3 separate regions of the Homo sapiens genome follow, and regions 1 and 3 are each linked to region 2. Evidence: promoter capture Hi-C in 16 types of primary human blood cells and fetal thymus (Javierre and others, 2016). All regions are on one chromosome and are shown on one strand. Each heading gives the region's core, a stretch centred on a gene start or on the middle of the fragment in contact. The rest is flanking DNA. Distances are from core to core; before and after follow the strand shown.

What was found. The method cuts DNA at HindIII sites, captures the fragments that hold promoters and counts their contacts. A CHiCAGO score of 5 or more calls a contact.
Region 1: a contact is called between the fragment with the promoter of ALG5 here and the fragment with the promoter of AKAP11 in region 2, in 1 of 17 cell types (total CD8 T cells). The highest score is 7.3, in total CD8 T cells.
Region 3: a contact is called between the fragment with the promoter of SUPT20H here and the fragment with the promoter of AKAP11 in region 2, in 2 of 17 cell types (total B cells and total CD8 T cells). The highest score is 10.9, in total B cells.

The regions. Positions count from the first base shown.
Region 1 is chr13:36,997,894-37,000,593 of GRCh38, reverse strand. ALG5 (ALG5 dolichyl-phosphate beta-glucosyltransferase) reads left to right here and starts at 1,254. Exons shown (of 10, transcript NM_013338.5): 1 at 1,254-1,359. The coding sequence starts at 1,294. RefSeq lists enhancers at 1-68, 529-578 and a silencer at 1,039-1,338. The HindIII fragment of the contact is 11,758 bases long and covers 1-2,700 here.
Region 2 is chr13:42,270,734-42,273,531 of GRCh38, reverse strand. AKAP11 (A-kinase anchoring protein 11) reads right to left here and starts at 1,380. Exons shown (of 13, transcript NM_016248.4): 1 at 1,304-1,380. RefSeq lists a silencer at 1,121-1,470 and an enhancer at 2,011-2,190. The HindIII fragment of the contact is 2,900 bases long and covers 1-2,194 here.
Region 3 is chr13:37,058,383-37,061,157 of GRCh38, reverse strand. SUPT20H (SPT20 homolog, SAGA complex component) reads left to right here and starts at 1,470. Exons shown (of 26, transcript NM_001014286.3): 1 at 1,470-1,599. RefSeq lists a silencer at 1,299-1,558. The HindIII fragment of the contact is 8,647 bases long and covers 1-2,775 here.

The DNA of each region.
Region 1 (2,700 bases), core at 5-2,504, 5.3 Mb after region 2:
CTGTTAAAGAAGGAGCGGGTCTCCCTCTTTATAAAAGAGCTGGTGCTGTGACTCAGAATAACACCAACAGTTCGGAGATAACAGGGTTTCTAGCGCAGAATCAAGCAGTGCGTGTGGAGCGTTATTCCAATGTTTCTGCGTCTTTTTTCTGCCTGTGACTTAGGCTCAGCCCTGGCCTTGCCTCTTCACTGGTCAAGGGCTCCGTGCTCCAACACATGAGAAACCTGAACTTTTTTTTTTTTTTTTTTTGAGACAGAGTCTCGCTCTGTCGTCCAGGCTGGAGTGCAGTGGCGCGATCTCGGCTCACTGCAAGCTCCGCCTCCCGGGTTCACGCCATTCTCCTGCCTCAGCCTCCCGAGTAGCTGGAACTACAGACGCCCGCCACCGCGCCCCGCTAATTTTTTGTATTTTTAGTACAGACGGGGTTTCACCGTGTTAGCCAGGATGGTCTCGATCTCCTGACCTTGTGATCCGCCCGCCTCGTCCTCCCAAAGTGCTGGGATTACAGGCGTGAGCCACGGCGCTCGGCCGAGAAACCTGAACTTTCTGTGCGCTCATTGTCCGCACCACGTTCTGCTCTGCAGGTCCCGGAGCTGAGGGCTCCTAAGCATCACCTTGTGTTGTAGACTGTGTCGTGCTCAAGGCTGCCATCTCCCTCCTAGGTGGGGTTACCAGATAAAATACAGGATACCACGTTAAATTTGAATGTCTGATAAACACAGCGTGGTTTTTTTGTTTTTTGTTTTTGTTTTTTTGTGGGTTTTTTTTTTTTTAAAGCATGAGTATGCCCCAAATAGAGCATGCAATTAGTTGTTGCCAGAACCTGGAGGGAGCTGGGAAGGCTTTACAGATAGATAGTGGTGATGGTTGCACAGTATGTATGTAATTAATGCCACTCACTATTGTAAACTTAAAATGATTAAAATGGCAACTTTTTATTTTACCACAGTTTATAAAAACTAATGTAATAAACCAGAAACCTGTAACTGGATGAGTCGTATGGTATGTGGCTATCTTAATAAGGCTGTTAAAAACATGATTAGTTTTTTAATCTGAAATTCAAATTAAGTAGACGTCTTGCATACTTGATAAACCTGGCGCCCCGCTGTGGAACCTAGCGCTCCTCTCCACCGACTGGGCGCCGAGGGCACGAGAGCGGCGTTTTCTCCGCCTCGCCACGCGGGGGCGCTGCGGCCAGCGGGCGCGACCTCTCTGGCGGCGGGGCCGGGTCGCGCGGGCGCGCTTCCGCCTGTGTGGAGGTGCGGGATTGGGCGGGCTGCCACGGCATGGAGAATGGCTCCGCTTCTGTTGCAGCTGGCGGTGCTCGGCGCGGCGCTGGCGGCCGCAGCCCTCGTACTGGTGAGAACAGGGATGGGAACCCGCGCAGGCCGGGGCTTACCGCTCTCCTGGAGACTGCGGCTCCTCAGGCGTCCCCTCCTCCGCGCTACCAGTTCTCGGAGAAGTCCCTTTTCCCCTAGATTCCCCCAAATTCCTGACCTCGGAGTTTCCTGGAGTTTCACTCTCCTTTTCTTCGGTTCTTTAATTTTCCCTTGGAATCTTATCTCTTTGTGTGCTCAGAGACTTGTAAGTTTTTTCACACTGGAGCGCACCCACCCGGCCTGGCATCATCGCCGCTTCCATCGCCCCTGGCGCCCGCGCCCCCTACCCACCTCCTCTGTCAACCTCGACCTCTCCCAGACTCTCCGGGACCTGCAGCCGCTGCAGTTCTGCTCCACCCAGGGAGGTCTCGAGCCCCCAGAAGGGGTGTGCTCCCTAGCCTGCTCCCTTGGCTGATGTGGTTAAGCAAATAGGGGTGACGGAGCCTTGACGGCAGCCATCTGTTACAAATGGGAATAAATGCGTGGATCGATGAGACCCACTAGGGACGCAGGGTGAGCGAGAGAGACAGGCCTCAGGCGCCTTGTCCGGGGTCGCATTGTGTCCCAGAATTAAGCACCCTAAATATACTGCCCCTAAACAAGGCAGGACGATAGAATGCAAACTCGATTGTCTTTGCCCTTGCTCTCGAAACACAAAAACATTGTAAACACTTGCTGATTGTTAAGTGGTAGAAAATTGGCGAACTCTCTCCCGCACACCTTGGAATGAGCCTGCCCTCTAGTTAGTAAGTGGAGAGGATTTCAGCTTCCTTGACATTCAGATTAGCCACCTAGACAGCACTGCCAGGAAGGCCACTCTGCCATCTTTCCAGAGGTTGTATAAATTTACAGTTTAGATAAAATGTAATGCATCCTTACTTCTTTGTTGATAGTATCTGGGTGAGAGAGGAGTCCTCTCTTGCCCTAACTAGTAGAGATTTCAGGGTTTAGGGCTTTTTTGTTTTTTCAAGTTTTTGAGCAAACCAGGATTGATTGATTGATTGATTGATTTTTGGCGGGGTGCGGGCGGGGAGTGGATTCACACATTCTTAGATTGAAGCTGCCTTACTTTGGGTCTTTTGCACAGATTTTATGGGATTGTACTGACGGTATTTGTTCCCACTAGCTTGAAGTGATAAGAGCTACCATTTATTGATTGTAGTACTTACTATATGTTGTGTTGCACTTGGTTTAATAGGAGTTATTAAATCTTTAACACTGTGACATATATGTTATCATTAGCATTATTTTACTGGTGAGGAAACATGTTGGAGAAATGAGCTCGTGTACTCAAATGTTGCACAACTAGTGAAACTTAGGT
Region 2 (2,798 bases), core at 131-2,630:
CTTCCCTGATTTCCTTACATTCTTTGACCTTTCATAAATTACTGTTACAGCTACAATAGTGACATTCACTGTCCACCCCTGGGTCAGTTTTGTCAGGAGGAACAACGACAAGAAAAAATGAATAATCAGGGTACCGTTTGAAAAAGTAAATGTGTTTTTCAAAAAAAAAAAAAATCATTCAATTGCACTATTTTAACTGACACCAATCATGCCAGGCACTGGGCTGCCATCCTAAAATGATGACATTAAAAAAAATATATCTGTGCATTACTGATACCCCATTTTTTCTTAGTACTCCATATTTTGAGTATTTTCAGACATAACAAAATAACAATCGACATGACATTTCTAAAACAGTGGGAAGCAGCTAAGCAAAACGAGCATTTTGCAAGCGATTGAAAAGCTGAAAAGAGAACAGGAATTAACTCCAGTTTGTACTAAAGCTATTAGGTATGTATCTCAGCAGTCTTTCTCACCATGAAACTCCTTAACATCTAAAGCTAAACCACATCCAACTTTATATGGTTTTAGAAGACAGACAAAGCAGAGAAAAAAAATGAAAGCTGGTAATATGGGGAAGAGAAAAAATGTTAGCTTTTACTGTCATTGTCACTTTTTAATACTTCGGTTACATCTACATATTTTTTATAAAGCAGCTTAGATGCCTGGATTAACAGCAGTATACTCAATCCATTCGGGGTACTTTATGGCCAGCCTTAAGCCATTAACAGCCTAGGAGAGTATTTGACAGCAAATCCAAATATCAATACTCTGAGGAGCCCCTTGACGCCTTCCGTTTACAAGATCTGAGCAGCGCCTGCTTCCAAGGCTCCGGGGGTCTGACAGTGAAGGATGCTGTTCGGGAACAAAGTGCAACGTCCTCCCAACCGCTGCAAATGTTCCTGTGCGCACACCACGAACACACACTAAGCACGCGCACCACGCACCCGGGGGGCCGTCTCTGAAGACCACCCCGGGGATGGAAACAGCCTGTCATTAAAAGGGGCGGCAGCTCCACCGCCACACTTGGGACCCCAGGAAGACGCGTCTCGAGACCCAGCACCTCCCTCTACTCTGGGCCCGGTGCGGTGAGTTTCCTCCTTCGGCCGCGCTCCTCCCGCCCTCCTCCCTCCGCCATGCGAAGGCGCAGCTCTCGGGCGGCCCCGAAGCCAGAAGGGGGACCAGCGGCAGGCGGAGGGGCTGGAGCGCCGGAGCCGGGCCGCTCCATCCATGCCGGCCGCACACCCGCCGCCACCCCATCTAAACGCAGCCTCCGCGGCGAGCACGTCGGCGCCCGGCTCACCTGGGGGCCGCAGCCTCCGCAGCTCACAGACATGTCACCGGCCTCAACGACCCGTGAGCGAGCCGGGCAAGCAAGCTGGCCCCCTCCCGCGCTGACCCCCAGCCCTCCCCCTCCCAGCCCCGCGGCCCGCCCCCGCCCTGCCCACCCCTCGGCTTCCGCCGCCGCCGCCGCCGCCGCAGCTCCGGCCCGCAACACCGCCTACTCTCCACGCCTCCCACTCTCTCTCGCGAGAGGGCAGCGCGCCTCTCGCGAGAAAAATTCCGCGGCCGAGCCCGCGCAAAAGTGGGTGGGCGTTTAAAAAGGGAAAGAAGGAACAGGAAAAAAAGCCTTCCCACGTGCTCCAGTGCAGCCCGCGGAGCAGCCCGCGGGGCAGCCCCGCTGGTCACATGACTTAAAGGGGGCCTCTCCATTGGCCGGGACCCACTCAGCCTTGGGAGCTTTAAATTCGAGGGCGACCTACGAACCTGCGGCGGACGTCTTGCGCGCTTCCTGGTCCGTTGCCTTGGAAACGGCTTAACCCTTCCCTCTGGCAAGTCCCCAGGCCTTGGCTTGCTCCGCAGATTTGGTTTCAGGCTCTGCCTCTTTTCCCTCGACCCCTTAGTCTTAACAGCCTGGGGCCAGCTGGGCTCCTTCTTCGCCACAAGGCTAGTTTTGCTTTCTTCCGAAGCCCGGGGCCCTTCCCAAAGTGGCAGCCCCACCAGATCCGAAGGCCCAAGGAAGGCTCATCCTTTCTGATGGCTCCGCCCCTTCTCCCAGCATCTCCGGGGAGGACCACTCACAGCGCACCGGGCAACCAGCCCTATCCCAGCCAAGAAGTAGCTTCCAGGGTTCTCAGGGCCCTAGTGCTCACCCTGATGTCTTTACGTGGTATGGAAATCGGAAAGTAAAGCTTTGGTCACTGGGAAGCCTAGCCAGAGATGAAAAGCTGTTATGGTGATTATTTTCACCTAAAATCGGAAGGGCCAGTCCAGTCAAATTGCCCTGTCTCCTAAAGGGCATCTGTTCCTCAAGAGTGGAAACACCTGGCAATAAGAAAGACATTTTTGAGTGTATCCTCGTTATGAGTTAAGTTTTGCCCTGTTCAGAGGAGAGGGTCACGGAAGAAAGGGTGCATTCGTTTGTTCATTTCTTCATTCAACAAACACTACTCTAGGCTGTTGATTGAACAATGATGAAGACAAGTAGTGTAGATTCTAGGGAACTTATCTGAGGGTGAAAAGAAAAAAAATCTGTTGGTTTTAAGCTGTATGCAAAGAAGTTACAATAAGTGACGTGATGGTGATGGTGACTGAGTGGCTAGTAAAGGGGATGCCCTTTTAAGGAGGAGATATTTTAGCAGCGATTTGAATAACAGACGCAAAAATCAGAGCATAGAGCATTCCAGGAAAAGGATAACACTAATTCAAAGGCCCTAAGTAAGGATCTATTCTAGTGCATTTGAGGGAAGAAGAAATGAGAAAGTAAACTTTCTTGAGCCTGGAGATGGAAACTGTAA
Region 3 (2,775 bases), core at 221-2,720, 5.2 Mb after region 2:
CACAATAAAATACCACTTTATACCCTTTGGGATGGTTACTATCAAAGGAATAGAAAATTATGGTGTTAGTGAGGATGTGGAGAAATTGGAATCCCCCGACAATGCTCTTGGTATGTAAAATGAATGGTTCAGCTGCTGTAGAAACATTTGTTTATGGGTTCCTCAAATATTTTCACGTAGAATTACTATAAGACCCAGAAGTTCCACTATGTTTATACCCAAAAGAATTGAAAACAGGGACTCGAACAAATACTTGTATACAAATGTTCATATCATTGCTATTCACAATAGCCCGAAAGTGGAAACAACCCAAATGTCCATCAGTGGATGGACAGGTAAAACTGTGGCATCTAGGTACAGTGGAATAGTAGCCATAAAGAGACATGAAGTACCGATACATGCAACAAGGTGTACAAGGTGAACCTGCAAAAGATTATGCTACGAAGACAGACCAAAAGGTCACACATTCCATTTATATGAAATATCCGTAATAGGTACCACAGTTTGAAAGCTGATTGGCATTTGCCAGGGGCTGAGAGAGGGAGGAATGGGAGTAACCACTTAATGTGTTCGGATTTTATTTTGGAGTGTACTTTAATACACTTATAATGTGTGCAACCACTAACTCTAATTCCAAGACACTTTCATTCATTATGACCCTTGGCATTGTGAACGGCAAATAATAAATGCTCATTAAAAAGATTCACCCCAGGCCGTGCATGATGGCTCACGCCTGTAATCCCAGCACTTTGGGAGGCCAAGGCGGGTGGATCACTTGAGATGAGGAGTTCAAGAGCAGCCTGCCCAACATAGTGAAACAGTCTCTACTAAAAATACAAAAATTAGCCGGGTGTGGTGGTGCACGCCTATAATCCCAGCTACTCCGGAGACTGAGGCAGGGAGAATCGCTTGAACCCAGGAGGCAAAGGTTGCAGTTAGCTGAGATTTCTCCACTCCACTCCAGCCTGGGCGACAGAGCGAGACTCTGTCTGAAAAACAAACGAACAAACAAAACAAAACAGACCTTACAATGTGTGCTAGTAATGCGGTTTCTGAATTTTTAGAACCCTTCTCTGGGGTGGTTTTTTTAAAAACATAAACTCATTGGCAGTTGATATACTACAGAAGGTTGTACGCATTGGACTAGTAAATGTAGGTAACGGTGTCGCTGTTTTTCCATTTGTATGTGCTAAGCAAAGAGAAAAGCTAGTTCTATGTTTCTTCCACTCTAGAAATTCAACAGGGTCGTTTTTCCCCAAATTCACATCTACACCCTCCCTCCCACTTTGCGGACTCGGACTCCAGGATTGAGCAGAGATCCTGGGCCCCGCCTCCCGCCCGGACGCAAGTCTCTGCGGGCCTCACCGGCGTCCTGCGCGGAACGCAGCGCTCCAGGCTCCTGGCAGCGGCCCCGCCCTCCCGGCTCCTCCCCTTCCGCCCGCCTTCCCCGCCCCTCGGCCCAGCCTGCCAATCGGAAGTGCGGCCGCCGGAACTGGCTGTTGGTGGGGGTGCAGCACTGAGCCGCCGACGGGGCGGGTGGGCTTTGCTGCCGAGCAGGCGGCGCCGTCTTGGGGCCTAGCGGCGAGGCGACCCGCACAGGTGGGCGGTGGCGGTAGGTGGGTGGCCAGCGACTGGCAACGCGGTGGCTTAGACGCGCGAGATCCGGCCAGGGTCAGAGGTGAGCGGGCCGCATCCCAGAGCCCGCTGGAGGAAGACGGGGTCCCCAGAGACCCGGCAGGCCGGGGCGGAGGTTGAGGCAGCTAAACTCCAGGTGGACGCCTACATCGCCTTTCGCGGTGTTGCTAAGCCGAACTTTTAATTTTAGTTTGACTTTTGGGTTCCAGAGACGGGTATTTCCGGACACTGGCAAGAATTTTGCCTTGCGTGTCTTCGAAGGCGGTTTTCTTGGTGTCCATATTGCATAAAGGCTTGTCGCTCCTCTGTGGAGATGACGGTTGTACAGGTAAAGCCTAAGTTGTGACAAAAGCTCCTGCAATGGGAAGACTCTGGTCGATCAGGGAAATCAGTAGAATTGATAGCAACGCGTAGAATTGATAGCAACGCTTAGAATTGGATTAATTACTGGCCATGGTTACCCGGCGCTCAGAAATGAACTTGGAGAACAGTTGCCCTGGAAGCCATCTCCCGTAGCCACTGCGTAGTGGGGGCCGCGTCTTCTTGAGTGCAATTCATCAAAGTCTCTAGTAGGACTCAAAATATAAAGTGACGAGCAGGATTTTCGGAGTCGAGTACAGTGTACTTGGGTTGATCACCATGTTATAAAGTTAGATCCAAATTAAGAAATACATATTCGTCTCTGAGCAGAATTGGGTCCTTTTTTTAATTGCTTTGCTTTTTTTAAAGAAATGTAAAAACAGATGCCGGTTTGATTAGTTTGCAGGTTGTAATATTGGAAGGGACCTAAGATTGGACACAGAGTTCTGAATTCTGATCTAGGTCTGTGATGTTAGGAAAGTCAGTTGTTCTGATTGCCTTATTCTGTAAAACGGAAATGATAATGATTACAGTTTCCTCACAGGTTCTAGTAAATTCTGTGTATAGACAGAATGTTTGCTTTGTGAGAGATATGAAGTTATTAGTTTTTGTCTGAAGTACTTAAATAATTTAAAGTTAGTAAGCCCCCATCCCCAATTTAGTGACAAGAAATCTTAAAGTCATCACATTTTGTCCGAAAAGTACATAGTGTATCTTCATCTTCAAATTCAGTGGTCAGAAAATTTTCACGTTCACCTAAATTCAACTTAAACCTCCTAC